Linked DNA regions of Homo sapiens: all the other regions are linked to region 1. The links are contacts of gene promoters, found by promoter capture Hi-C in blood cells and fetal thymus (Javierre and others, 2016). All regions are on one chromosome and are shown on one strand. Each heading gives the region's core, a stretch centred on a gene start or on the middle of the fragment in contact. The rest is flanking DNA. Distances are from core to core; before and after follow the strand shown. Region 1 holds the start of SH2D4B (SH2 domain containing 4B). Region 2 overlaps DYDC1 (DPY30 domain containing 1). Region 3 has its middle 4.2 kb from the start of PRXL2A. Region 4 has its middle 27 kb from the start of DYDC1. Region 5 has its middle 18 kb from the start of LINC02655.

What was found. Contacts are between HindIII fragments. The CHiCAGO score rates a contact against its expected background, and 5 or more counts as called.
Region 2: a fragment that was not itself captured here is called in contact with the fragment with the promoter of SH2D4B in region 1 in 2 of 17 cell types (erythroblasts and fetal thymus); the score reaches 6.4 in erythroblasts.
Region 3: a fragment that was not itself captured here is called in contact with the fragment with the promoter of SH2D4B in region 1 in 14 of 17 cell types (activated CD4 T cells, megakaryocytes, non-activated CD4 T cells and 11 more); the score reaches 10.6 in activated CD4 T cells.
Region 4: a contact is called between a fragment that was not itself captured here and the fragment with the promoter of SH2D4B in region 1, in 1 of 17 cell types (fetal thymus). The highest score is 6.1, in fetal thymus.
Region 5: a fragment that was not itself captured here is called in contact with the fragment with the promoter of SH2D4B in region 1 in 1 of 17 cell types (M2 macrophages); the score reaches 5.4 in M2 macrophages.

Annotation. Positions count from the first base shown.
Region 1 is chr10:80,536,476-80,539,175 of GRCh38, forward strand. SH2D4B (SH2 domain containing 4B) reads left to right here and starts at 1,427. Exons shown (of 8, transcript NM_001388272.1): 1 at 1,427-2,040. The coding sequence starts at 1,857. The HindIII fragment of the contact is 17,935 bases long and covers 1-2,700 here.
Region 2 is chr10:80,347,747-80,350,446 of GRCh38, forward strand. All of the region lies in intron 3 of DYDC1 (DPY30 domain containing 1), which reads right to left. It also overlaps a transcript of DYDC2 not described here. Among named protein-coding and RNA genes, the nearest start is that of DYDC1, 7.7 kb to the right of the region's middle. RefSeq lists a silencer at 693-893. The HindIII fragment of the contact is 874 bases long and covers 921-1,794 here.
Region 3 is chr10:80,403,031-80,405,730 of GRCh38, forward strand. No RefSeq gene overlaps it. Among named protein-coding and RNA genes, the nearest start is that of PRXL2A, 4.2 kb to the right of the region's middle. RefSeq lists a silencer at 644-816. The HindIII fragment of the contact is 1,954 bases long and covers 318-2,271 here.
Region 4 is chr10:80,328,401-80,331,100 of GRCh38, forward strand. No RefSeq gene overlaps it. Among named protein-coding and RNA genes, the nearest start is that of DYDC1, 27 kb to the right of the region's middle. The HindIII fragment of the contact is 1,034 bases long and covers 813-1,846 here.
Region 5 is chr10:80,666,649-80,669,348 of GRCh38, forward strand. No RefSeq gene overlaps it. Among named protein-coding and RNA genes, the nearest start is that of LINC02655, 18 kb to the left of the region's middle. The HindIII fragment of the contact is 536 bases long and covers 1,004-1,539 here.

The DNA.
Region 1 (2,700 bases), core at 177-2,676:
TGGGGGCCTTCCTCCCCTTGTCTCCTCTTTGGACTCGGGGGTCTCCCACCAGCCACGGCGAGGGGGAGAAAGAGAATAGCTGGGCAGAGGCTAGGGAAGACCCCCGGTCTCAGAAACTGAGGGGAGCCAGGACTCCCGGTGGGGGAGTCGGTGCAAGCCCTGAGGTGGGTGGATGGGAGTCCAGGGCCACAGCTCTGCAGCGGACAGGCGAGTCCTGTGGCGGCTCTAGGAAGGTCTGGGCACACTGGGACCAGCTAGCTGGACCTGGGTGGGGAGGGGTGGGGCGTCTGACTCCACTCCTGTGACCTGGACATTGCCTAGCTGAGCAGGAGCTTTGACCCTATGGGCTTACAGCTCATCTGAATCTGCTTAGTCCATCTTCCTGTTGTGTTAACCTTGCAGAGGGGGAAGAATGCCAACTCTCCACCCCTCTTCCATCACTCTTGGGTACCTGATCCACCTTCCACCCTCATGGGCAAGGAAGGGGACAGGAAGGTCACCAATCCAACCAAGCCACAGTGCCAAATCCTGTTGGTTCGTTTGTTTTCCCTTGGTTGGGTTATGTTTTCAAACCATCAACAGATTCATAGTTGCTAGTGGATGTCAAATTTCAAAACGGGGGAGTCCCAATACAGTGACTTGTCCATTAGGAAGCCATAGGCAAGCCACTTACTTTCTCTGAGCTTCAATATCCTTGTCCCAATAAGAAGGCATCTGTGATTTGCTCTGAGCACATATTTAGGGTGAGCTTTCACCCTAAAGATCTCAGCAACGGCAGCTTCTACCCACCTTCACACACCAAAGAGAGGGTGGCTTCCCTCCCAGCAGAAGGCAACATCCCGCCATTCCAGTGTGCTTCTGATCAGGGCACAGAGAAGAGCCAGTTTCATCTTCTTTCTTTTTGGTCAACTCCAGGCATCTGCAACAAACAAGATTAACAACGACCATTAAAACTGGCCCCTGGAGGGTTTATCTGTCAGCCACGCATGGCTGCAGGATCTCATTATATATAGGCCAAAGGGAAAGGATGTCTGCTTCCTTTCTGTCCTGGAATTCCAAGATAAAATCCCCTCCAGTTGTCTCTACTGATTCCATTTTGTTTTCTTTCTTGGCTGTAACACAGATAGGAGGAAAAATCTTTCCTCCCCCAAGGCAGAGTTTTAAACGCATCATCTCAGAATGCCAAATGTTCTGGAAAGGAAGAAAGTTGGCAGCGAAGGAACCCGCAGAGAGAGGGGCTGAGAGGGCTGAGGGGCCCAGCAGCTTCTGGCAGGCTCCTCTGGTCTGTGTTTGAAATTGGCTGAAAAGACATGGAATTTAGTAGGCAAGTCTGCCTCCTTCTCCTCCTCTTATCTGCAGAGGAGAGATCAGTTCCCAGCTGGCCGGGGCAGTGTCATTGATATAGCTGGTGTCATTGTTACCTTCCACTAACAGATCACTCGACACCTACCAGCCCAGGCAGGGCTGGGACTGGGCATTTCCTGGCTGAGCTGGAGGCTTGGGCCCTTCCCATTGTCTCAGAACCCCAGGTGATGCCAAGACATGGGCTCTCCTGGGATGCCGTGCTTGGTGACCCAGGAGAAGGACTAGATTGCTCCTGGTGGTTGCTCCCCCTTGCAGAGTCCCACCTGCCCCTTTGGGTCCTGTTGCCTGGCCTCTTTTGCTGTCCTGGGTAGAGGAGATGAGTTCGTCGCTGGCTGCAAGCTGAGGCCAACTGACAATGCTGCACAGAGAAGGGGCACCGAGAGTGGCCCCGGATTGAGCAGTCCGTAGTGCAGAGCAGCCCCTCGGGCGTTCTGCCTGGCCCTGCTTCCCCTGCTGGCTGCCCTTCTGGTGCGTGCATCCCAGGTGGCATCATGCTGCAGCAGATCCTGCACGACATGTACATCGACCCCGAGCTCCTTGCCGAGCTCAGCGATGTGCAGAAGCACATCCTCTTCTACAAAATGCGGGAGGAGCAGCTGAGGCGCTGGAAGGAGCGGGAGACTTGGGAGGCCCTGGCCCAGGACGAGGGTCTCAGGCCTCCAAAGACCAAGCGAGGTACGTGGCTGGGAGTCACAGAGAGGTAGGCCACCAGTCCCCCAGGAGGTAGAAAAATTAGCAGGGCCAGGCTGTGCCCTTCTTCAAGATGGGCACTGGGGTGATGAGGGCTGGGGGCTTGAAACCCTTGTCTTGTGGGCATCAGGTCCCATGAGCCTGTGCTTTTGCCTTTTGGCCAGGACCTTAGGGCTTCGAGGCTGCTGCAGAGGCTGTCCAGCGGCCCTTATTGGAGTCGGGGAGTTGGGACTTGCTTTGTCTTGTTGTGGAAGGCCCGAGTTCTGGGAAGACACCATTGAGACTTCAGATTGTGCTCCGACGTGGTTGGCAATGGTAGGGTGAACGACGGCATATTTGTGACCCTTGCCATTGGTTCTGGGCCAGAGTGTGGTGTAGATATGCAGTTCCTTTCTCCTTGGCATGCGTGGCACACCAGTTCTTGGCTAGGGCCCCTTCTGTGGACTGTGCCTCTCCCTCCAGATCCTCCGGCAGGAGGATGCTGTGGGTTGTCTCTGGAGCCCCACTGGGCATCCGGAGAGAGGGCATCAGGGAACGTCCCACACAATGAATGACCATCCCCAAATGGTCGTAGCAACTGCAGATGAGAAGCAAGGGCCTAGCCTACATTTCAGGTGTTTTGTATGCAAAGTCATGTGCCAGTCA
Region 2 (2,700 bases), core at 108-2,607, 190 kb before region 1:
AAAATTAGTTGACCGTATATACTTGGGCTTATTCCTGGGTTCTCTATTCTGTTCCACTGGTCTATGTGTCTGTTTTTATGCCAATACCATACTGTTGTAATTACTATGGCTTTGTAATATAATTCTGGATCAAGTAATTTGATAGTTCCAACTTCGTTTTTCTTTCTTAGGATTGCTTTGGCTATTCAGGGTCTTTTGTACTTCCATACAAATTTTAGAATTGGGTTTTTCTGTTTCTGTGAAGAATGCCATTGGAATTTTGATAGGGATTGAGATGAATCTGCAGATTACTTTAGGTAGTATAGACATTTTAACAATACTAACTCTTCTGATATATGAACACAAGATATCTTTCCATTTATTTGTGTCTTCCTCAATTTTTTGCATTAGTGTTTTACAGTTTTCAAGGTATAGATGTTTCACCTCCTTGGTTACATTTATTCCTACGTATATTATTCTTTTTGAAGCTATTATAAATAAGATTGTTTTCTTGGTTTCTTTTTCGAGTAAGTTATTGGTAAACAGGATTTAAATTTTTCTTAATGAGAAGAAATACTCCCAACCACTATTATCAAACATTAAATGGCTTTGGAAATTAGCTTTGGCTGCAGACTTGATAATGTTTCTTAATTCATTTTAAAATTACATGGCAAAACATCACTCATATGTAAAACTTACACTGCAGTAAACTCACTTCAACAACAGCTCATGTTGTTTGAATCACAAGTAACGTAAAGCTGCTTTATACACGTCCAGTGCTGTCAAAACTAGAACAGGATATTAGATCTCCGTTCCCAAACAAATTGTCAGTGGATGTATTTTCCAACCTCGAACTACAATTCCAGAGTGTTTGTAAGGCCTCAACGTAAGTGCAAAGGAAATTTCCATATTCTGAAATCCATTTAACTATGCAATTAAGAAGCTTCCATCAACCTTCAGTTGGAAGTGGCTATTCTACAAAGTAATGCATGCTAAAAGGCAAACAGCAAGAGAAAAACAAAATTCTAGAAATACCTTCTAAGGAATGAATATGCTTAATTTAAATTATACACACATAGACTGATAGCAACTTTTGACAGTAACTATGTAAAAAGACATTTTCAAGGATGAAATGCATAAAACCTCATTACAGATCAGCATTAGCAGATAAACTTTTTTTTTTTGAGGCGGAGTCTCGCTCTGTCGCCCAGGCTGGACTGCAGTGGCGCGATCTCGGCTCACTGCAAGCTCCGCCTCCTGGGTTCGCGCCATTCTTCCCCCTCAGTCTCCTGAGTAGCTGGGACTACAGGAGCCCACCACCACGCCCGGCTAATTTTTTGTATTTTTAGTAGAGACGGGGTTTCACCGCGTTCGCCAGGATGGTCTCGATCTCCTGACCCTGTGATCCGCCCGCCTCGGCCTCCCAAAGTGCTGGGATTACAGGCGTGAGCCACCGCGCCCGGCCCGCAGATAAATATTTTAAAATAGATTTTGATGATAGACCACACTAACGCTGAACTTCAACCAAGTGAAATGTTATCTTTTAAAAACTTTTTTAAATTCTCAATAGTAAACCTATCTAATAAAAAATTTATATTCAGTGATTATTATTTGAATTTCATCAATAAAACATTTGCAAAAATTCATTTTCTCTCTTGTTATTCCTACATAATATGCCATAATGCCTTCATAATATCATCAAATTTGCCTCTTGGCCTGTAAAGCATAAAATGTCTACTATCTGACAATGCATTCTAAAATAATAAATTTTTACAAGTAAAGATATAATAAAGTGCTTGATATTTTATTTGCAAAAGCTTTTAAAGGTAATTTCTTAGTATTCCTATATTATCACTACTAAGATAAAAGTGATGGGGTAGGTAGCTGAAACGCAGAAACAGTTTCAATCAACTTTCAGACATTGGTAGAGGAAGTTAAATAACTCCAATCTCTCAACAATAATGCAAAGTGTATTTGTTAAATAACAGTCAGATTGATCAAAACAACCAGCTTCTTGACATTTTCAAGAAACTTCCAAAACCTAATCCCCTTCCTCACACATGAGCAAAACCACTGAAAGCCATTCAAAACAAATAAACAAAAAAGCTCTTACTTCAAAACTAAGCTCTTACATAGAAAATGGCAATAAAAATACTTCCCTGTTCACAAAAAACTAGGCTTGTGGAGAGTGCCTAAAATATCAAGGAATTTCAAGTCAGTGGTACTGACTATGAGGACAACTGCTTTTGCAACCAGCAAGGAAATAACCAGAGTTCCCAACCTCCAGCTTACATGACTCAGAAGGCACCCAGAGGCCTCTCTGTTTTTCTTCATCTCAGCCACACTCTCTCAAGCCTTTCTCTGTTGATCGATCTCTCCTATCTATTTCTGCACACCAATCCACTCCGCTAACTGGCCATAACATCTCCTGTATAATATTATTTTCTCTTCCGCCCTACTACAATACTTAGGATTCAATGCACAGTGGATTAGTTCATACCGGTCAACATAATATGGCTAGAGAAACTTGTTATTGCTAGTATTGCCAAATTATGCATAAGTAGGATAAAGTAGTCGAGCCGAAGAGAGTTATGTATCTCCCACTTACGATGTAATTGCCTAGGGGAAGGAGAACCTCTGGGAATTCTCTTATTTTTGATAGACAGGAACAGATACCAGCTATAGGAGCTGTAAGAGGAAGGATGGCTCCTCATCCACAGT
Region 3 (2,700 bases), core at 45-2,544, 130 kb before region 1:
ATTTTTAATACTCCAATACTATGGAGATAAAGGGCTAGTTCCTTATTTAATTGAAATCAACATTTTTCCAGGTAAGAAATTTGCTTTCAGTGTTCGATAAAGAATTTTTATTATATTTAAGTGATTTGCTTTTATTTCTATTTTACTTAGGGCTATGACTAGGAAATTCTACAATTTTAACTGGATTTCTTTTCAGCATCTATTAATATGATAAGCAGTTTTGTTCCTGTTTTCTGTTCATATGGACTAATAGATCTACTAATGTTGACACCCGCTTACAATCCTGGACTAAACTCTACTTGATTATAGAATAGCAAAGCTTGTAATTTCTAAGTTGCTCATTTTTTCACATTTTAACATGTCTGAAATTGGGTCACGCATTACAATTAGTGGTGTCCTATGACTGCTATTGTAGTAACAGATGTGACAGTTGTCATTGCCTGCACACCCGTCAATGTAGTCATAGCTGCTTAGATTGTTGACCCTTCAGTTGAGTTATGGACATTGCTTGTACTCCATGAGTTGACTTTAAATGCTCTATAAAATCTTCTAGGGCCAGGTGCAGTGGCTGACGCCTGTAATCCCAACACATTGGGAGGCTAACAGTGGAGGATCGCCTGAGTCCAGAAGTTTCAGACCAGCCTGGGCAACATGGTGAGACTCCATCTCTATTTTTTTGTTTTTTATTTTATTATTATATACATATTTTTGAGACAGAGTCTTGCTCTGTCGCCTAGGCGGGAGTGCAGCGGCGCGATCTCGGCTCACTGCAAGCTCCGCCTCCTAGGTTCACGCCGTTCTCCCGCCTCAGCCTCCCGAATAGCTGGAACTACAGGCGCCGGCCACCAAGCCCGGCTCATTTTTTTGTATTTTTAGTAGAGACGGGGTTTCACCGTGTTAGCCAGGATGGTCTCGATCTCCTGACTTCATGATCCGCCCGCCTCGGCCTCCCAAAGTGCTGGGATTACAGGCGTGAGCCACGCGCCCGGCCTTTTTTTAAAATTTATTTTTATTTATTTTTATTTTTTTGAGACGGAGTCTCGCTCTGTCGCCCAGGCTGGAGCGCAGTGGCGCAATCTTGGCTCACTGCAAGCTCCGCCTCCCGGGTTCACGCCATTCTCCTGCCTCAGCCTCCCGAGTAGCTGGGACTACAGCTGCCCGCCACCACGCCCGGCTAATTTTTTTGTATTTTCAGTAGAGATGGCGTTTCACCGTATTAGCCAGGATGGTCTGGATCTCCTGACCTCGTGATCCCACCGCTTTGGCCTCCCAAAGTGCTGGGATTACAGGGGTGAGCCACCACGCCCGGCCTCTATTTTTTTAAACAGTAAAATCTTCTAAAATATTACTCCAAGATTTGACACTGAAATGAAAAAGTTTTTGCAAATGCAGAAATTCATAAAATCAGAGCAGTGGAACATAAATTTGATATTAGTAAAGCAACTTTTGTTATCAGAAGAATTACTTCATTTTCCTATATTCTTGCAGAGCAACAATTGAGACACTTATGGAACCTAAGAAAGCTATACATACACACACAAATGAAGTCTATTATGTTTTGCTATTGAGAAACACACAAAAGAATTGTAAGGCACTGGAAAAGTTGCCAAATCTCTTGAAATGGATAAAAGGAATTCCAAAGCAATGAAAGGTTGGTGTCATCAATTCATTTGTTTTGAAGGACTATCATTAAGATGTCAAACATCTTTTTGTCAAAAACTTCTGCTGATGTTGAGCAGAAGGCTATATGGAGCACCCTTTAAGAAATGCTGTGTTACCAATGTTTCTAATGGTCAGAGGATAATATTGTGTGACAAATCCAGAAATCAGCAACTCTAAGTCTAAAAATAGTAAAAAAACAAAAAAACAAAAAAAAAACAAAAAACGAAAGAGTTGGGCTTTGAATGTGAAGATATCTAAGGAATGCCTTATCCTGTTCATTTCACTTATATTTTTTCTTTTTAAGTGTGCACACAGGGATAGATGAGTTGGGAATGAACCTAGACTTAGAGTGCAGTAGTACCCTGGCCACAATGACTGGCCAATCAGTATGAGGATCTGGGTTTTGTTCACTCCTTAGTCTAACTGCCCCTTCCCCATGTTGGATCCTAGGAATCATCCTATGACCATAGGGAGAACCATCCTTAATATGAAGCCAACACATGGATAATGGCAGAGAAGCAAGAGAACCTCGACTGTTGATGACATCATGAAACCACAGGATCACCTCAAGGCAACTGGAATTGGGTTTTCTGTTAACTTGCAAATCAAAGCTTCCTAACTGAATAAAGACTCAGTTAATGTTAGTTGGTAGTGCATGCAATGATGGTTGAGGACACTTGAGACAATCCTGCTTTCTCAACCTGGGGGCAGAATAATACCACCATCTAGCCCTCAGTCAGCCATCGGTTCACCTGGTAAACCATTGGCCACATTTATGGAAGGTTTTAGAAAGAGGTCCCTATTGACTTTGCTTTGCTTTGAGACACACTGTGGAAGTATAGGATTTTTTATGCTTAAAACAAATAAGAAAGAGCTGAATTCAGGGATATTGGCATATAGAGAAAATATTTGAAGCTGATCTATGCACATCTATTTTTGAGATTCACATACAAGTCTTGTTCTTGATTTCGCTTTTACCCATCCACAGAATGGTAACCTGGGCCTGACATATTGAAGTGAAGTATCAGTTTTTGCTCT
Region 4 (2,700 bases), core at 80-2,579, 210 kb before region 1:
TTTTAATGCTGTTGGAATCTGCAAATGTATTCAGTAGTTATATTTCTAACATAACTGGGTGACAGGACCAGTTTCAACACTTACTGGTACAATGCTGAATGCTACTCTTTGAGACTTCATTTCCCTATACTTTCAAACACAAGCTCATACCAACTCTATAAACTCCCAGGGGAGCTGTTGGCATTAGTAAGTACTCCATGCTAGTCTCTATTCTCTCTTCTTCACCAACTTCATGCCTGACCCCTTCCCACCGAGACACAGTCCCCGCCTGTCTTGCCCCAGTCCTCACAGTATGTGTCTAAGCTAGACAATGAGCATCAACCCTGGTTCTAATTTACAGGCAAGCTTCCTGGTGGGGCCATAGTCCTTCCTCAACCACTTGGCTGGACCAGATCCTTGCAAAATCCTTTCCCATGAGCTGTACCCCTCACTGTCTCCTCTGCTACCTTGACCTCCCCCTTCTCCCACCACTGCTCAGTTCCTGGCCAGGAACCTGCTTTGAACAAGGTCACCACCTCCTTCCCTCCAGCCACAGTACTGACACCTACCTGAGAGTAAGCATGGGAGCCACGCACTCCAGGGCTGCTCCTACCTGACTCTAAACCCCTATGGTCCCGCGACAGTCTCCCAATCCTCAGTTCCAGGGCACCTCCATTACCCACTGACTCTGTTCTACCTCTGTGTTTGTTATGAGCTACTGGAGAATATAATAACTCTGATGAGATCTCTATTTACCTCACACAGCACCTAGCATGTAATAGCAGTAGTAACTACTTGTTGAGTGCTTACTAAGTGCCAGGCACTGTTGTAAAAGCTTTCCATGAATTAACTCATTTAATCCTTCTCACAACCCTAAAGAGGTCAGCACTATTACTTTACTTAGTATACAAATGAGGAAGTTGAGGCAGAGCAGGCATTCATACATTTTTTAATGGATAAACTTCAAGTGGGTTCACAGAGTTGTCCATCAATCACTTTATTCATCCATTGCCCCAGAAGACATTGTAAAATTCATCCTCACTCAAGTACTTGACCAACCTCTGCCTTTCTTTCCTTCTTTACCAAGTGGCTCAGAGGTATATAATGCAAATTCTGCAGTGTACCCCTAACTCCTTCCAAGTATTCATCCTCCATACCTCAAAATGTCTGTCTCTATATTTTCCCCTCCTGGAGTGGAGGAAAAGGTGATTTATGAAGTACTTGTCTTCCTCTGATTTGTCCCACCCCCAATTCTTCTGGAACCCTGCTCTAATGCTTTGAGCTACACCTTCAGTCAACTTGCCACTTTCCTATTGCCAAAACACAAATGAAACTTCATTTCTCCCTACAAGGAGAATCCTTCCCCAGCCCTGTTACATCTTCAAGTCACTCTCTCTTCATCACCAAACTTCTCCAAAGACTGGCTTCACCAGCCCCTTTCCTGTCTACCAAAATTCACACCCTTAACCACCAGAGCTGAATTTCACCCCCATATCCTTAATAAAAACAGGGAAAAATCCTCAAAGGCCATTACAGGTCCTTCTACACATCACTCCCATCTCCTTCCCTCCACAACATTTGCCATTCTCCTGGAAACTCACCCTGGATGGTGAGGATGAGCTTCTGCCTCTGTCCATCCATTTGAGCCTTCTCTGGTCCCACTAACTACTCTTTATCCTGTTGCTGCCTCACCCCACCCCCAATTCAAATGGACATAACCTCCCTCAGAGATCCCTGCCAGTAACTCCCAAACCTTTGCATCCATTCTCAACTTTTCTCCTGGGTTTCATTCTGCCTTTCCAACAGTCTATGAAATAATTTTACACATATATCAGCCTGCTTTATCAAATAGTAAGTCTACAACTGAAGCTTTAGTCCCAAATATGGCCACTTCCCATTTTTTACTGACATCCTTAATCTAAAATGAGTCCTTCTGACTGCTCTCTGTCTCAGCACACTGCTTAATTTCCCTCACTGCCCCATTGCAATTTACTTTGTTCACTTGCTTCCTTTGGACTATATGTGCCATATGTTTAGGAACTATGTCTGTCTTGTTCACCATGACAAGCACAGTGTCTGGTATGGAGCAACCACTCCAAACATTTTTTGTTTACTCAATATGTCTTTGTTCTTCTAGCTCTTCTCAAATTGCTCTTCTTGAAGTCACCATGTTTCCAAGCCTAAACATCAGCAGTGATTGCTTACCTTGGCCTCCTCATTGAGTCACCAAATCCTGACTATCCATCCTTTATAAGACCATGGCATTTGACCGTTGCTTTCCATTTGCACTGCCACTTCAAAAGTCCTTTTTCAGGCAAAAAACAAAACAAAACAAAACAAAACAAAAAGACTCTTTAACCTATTTCTAAGTCTTTGACCCATCTATTCACTTCCTGAGATTGGGTCTTCCTACAAAATCAATTTGATCCCGTGATCAAAAGCCTTCAGTGCCACCCAACATGCCTTAACTCAAGTCCAAACCTTTGAAGCTGGTGTCCAGATCCTTCATGATCTGGCTCCTAACAGCCTCTCTACTCCTCTGTTTTGCCAGAATCCTTCACATCTCCATAGATCTCACATGCAAAAAATGTGAAACCATGTCTAAAGAAGTAAAGGAAAGTATATGAATGATGTTTTCCTTAAAAAAGTTAATAGATATAAATCCTAAAAAGGAAACAAGTAGACAATCTAGAACTGAAAAGTACAACAGCTGGAATGAAA
Region 5 (2,700 bases), core at 22-2,521, 130 kb after region 1:
AGATGATAATGATTGTAGCTGAGGCTGAGAAGCACTGGGCTATGGGAGTCTTTGCCCCACTACAGAGCTGGGATTTAATGGAGCCATTTACAAAGCTGCTGGCTGGTCCTTGTTGGCTGTGCCAACAGGGAGAACAAGCTCACAGTATTTTATTTCTATATAATACAGTCAGTAGTCCCAATAGAAAGCAAGGAAAGGTTCTTAAAGCCATCTGCTTCAGGAGAAAACTGGGGTGTGGGACTTGCTGCCAAGAGGAGAAATTCAGAGGGATGGGATAGAGGCCTGTTTGCAGAAGAAAGAGGGGCTGGACAAGTAGTTCAGAAGCATTCACATTCCTTGTTCTGGGATGGGATGGGCAAGGGGCAAGAATGTAGGAGGGAGGGAGCCTGAGGAAGCATCACTACTCCTGGGAGTCATAGTATGAGGAAGAGCTCTTATGGCCCTGAGAGGATGGGGCTGCCTGGAGCCCAGGGTCCCAACCTATCACTTCCCAGGGAGGGTGAAAGTGTCCCTGTCCCTGGGGGTCCTCATGGAGGCCTCTGTGTCATTGCCAGCCCTTGCCCAGAGGATATGTCCTGTCAGGGGGAGGGTGTGGCATGGCTGCGAGCTGAGCAAGGCAGGTATAGGTGGCAGAGGGGCCATGGTAGGAGGAGAGAGGTACTAGCCAGCTCGGCCTCTCTCCCTCACAGCACTGCCCCGCTGTGTGACCGCTGAGTGGGGAAAAGGTATGAAGTACTTACATGATGCTTAAGGCACAAAAAGTAACATATTTTTTATTCTTTCTAAATGATACACAATCTAGCTCTGAGATTCAGCTCGTGAGGAAGCCAGGTCTGGTCGCTTCTGGCCTCTCCCTAAACAAGAGCTCTGAGGCTCACAGGATCCATGTTGACTGCCTCTTTCCTCTCCTTGCTCTGCCTGTTAAGGGCATGGCTTCCTCAAGAAGGCTACCCTGAAGCCCCATGCAGCAGCCCTTTCCTCTGCCTGCAGCTCGGGCTAAAAAAGCTTTGTTCCTTTGTTCTGAGACCTTGCCATCCTTGGAGTGTTGGGCCTGAAATGGGTTCTGGTTACAACTAGGAGCAGAAACCCAAACCCTTCTCCTCCTGCAACTTATCTGGAAACAAAACTTTTCTTCAATCTGCAGCATTCAAAGCTGCAAACTCTTCACCTTTGACCAGCTGTTCCCATTGGATTCACCTGGGGCACTTTAAGAACTGCTGACTGACTGTCACTTCTAGATTTCCTGATTTAATTGGTCTGGGTGCAGGCTAGGCATAGAGACTTAAAGTTCCAGGTGATTCTGATCTGCAGCCAGGGTTGCGAGCTGTTGCCAGCCCAATTCCTCTTCATTAGGCATAGAGAAGTTTCATGGACCCAGCTGTCTGCAGAAAGCAAGTGGCTAACATCAACACAGGATGCCAAGTCTCCCACCTGCACAGATCCAGTGTCTTTAAAAACCTGTGCAGGCTGAAAACAGTGTCTAAAGGGTGGCCCTCAGTGACCAGCATGGCACCACTCACCTGGGTTTTTGAGAACAAAAGCTTACTCACATACTCACCTAGCAAGTAAGGGAAGCCCATGCCTTTGGGACCAAAAGTTCTGGCTGTATTTGAGGCGGAATAAAACACAGCTGTTTCACATCCAGGTTATAGTACATTTCTAACAAATCATTCTACTACGCTAGCTTACTTCTTTTTGCCCAGTTTGAATGCCAGTGCCATAATGCCAGGGATTACGTCTATGAGTTTTCTGCCGTATCCCTACTTTACAGGACAGAGCCTGGCACTAAGGCAATCTTTGTCACAAGAACAGATGAATACCGGAATGGATGGATGGATGGATGGAAGGGTAGATGGATGGATAAATGCATGGGTGGGTGGATGGATGGATGGATAGGTGGATGGAAGAACGAATGGATAGATGGGTGGGTGGATACAGGATGAGCATGTGGATGGATGATCCAGAATCACTGCCTCCTGAGATGCTCTAGAAAATCAGCCTCTCACTCAGGATTTGTATTAGTTTGTTCTCACACTGCTATAAAGAACTACATGAGACTGGGTAATTTATAAAGAAAAGAGGTTTAATTGACTCACAGTTCTGCATGGTTGGGGAGGCCTCAGGAAACTAACAATCATGGCGGAAGGCAAAGGGGAAGAAGCATGTCTTACCATGGTGGAGCAGGAGAGAGAGAGAGAGAGCAAGAGGGAGAGAGAAGGTGCTAAACACCTTTAAACAGCCAGATCTTGTGAGAACTCTATCATAAGACAGCACTAGGGTGATGATGCTAAACCCTTAGAAACCACCCCCGTGATCCAATCACCTCCTACCAGGTCTCTCCCCCAGCACTGGGGATTACAGTTCCACATGAGATTGGGATGGGGACACAGAGCCAAACCATATCGTAGTTCTTTTCAAAAGACAGAATTGGCGAGGGACGCCTGAAAGCAGAGCAACATGTCAATTCAATTTTTAAAAAGGTGAGAACTTCAGAGCCTAGGAAAGTTTCCTTTGAGCTATTCACATGGTCACCATTTAAGATTTTGTGAGTAGTGACCACATTGGCCTCTCTGTCTTGTGACACACACTCCCCATGATTGGGAAGAGAAAGAAAGCACATTCTTAGGAAAGCCATCAACCTCACAGAGTGACCTTTCAGGTACAATGATTTATAAGAGAAGAAAAAAACGCTGCAATAAA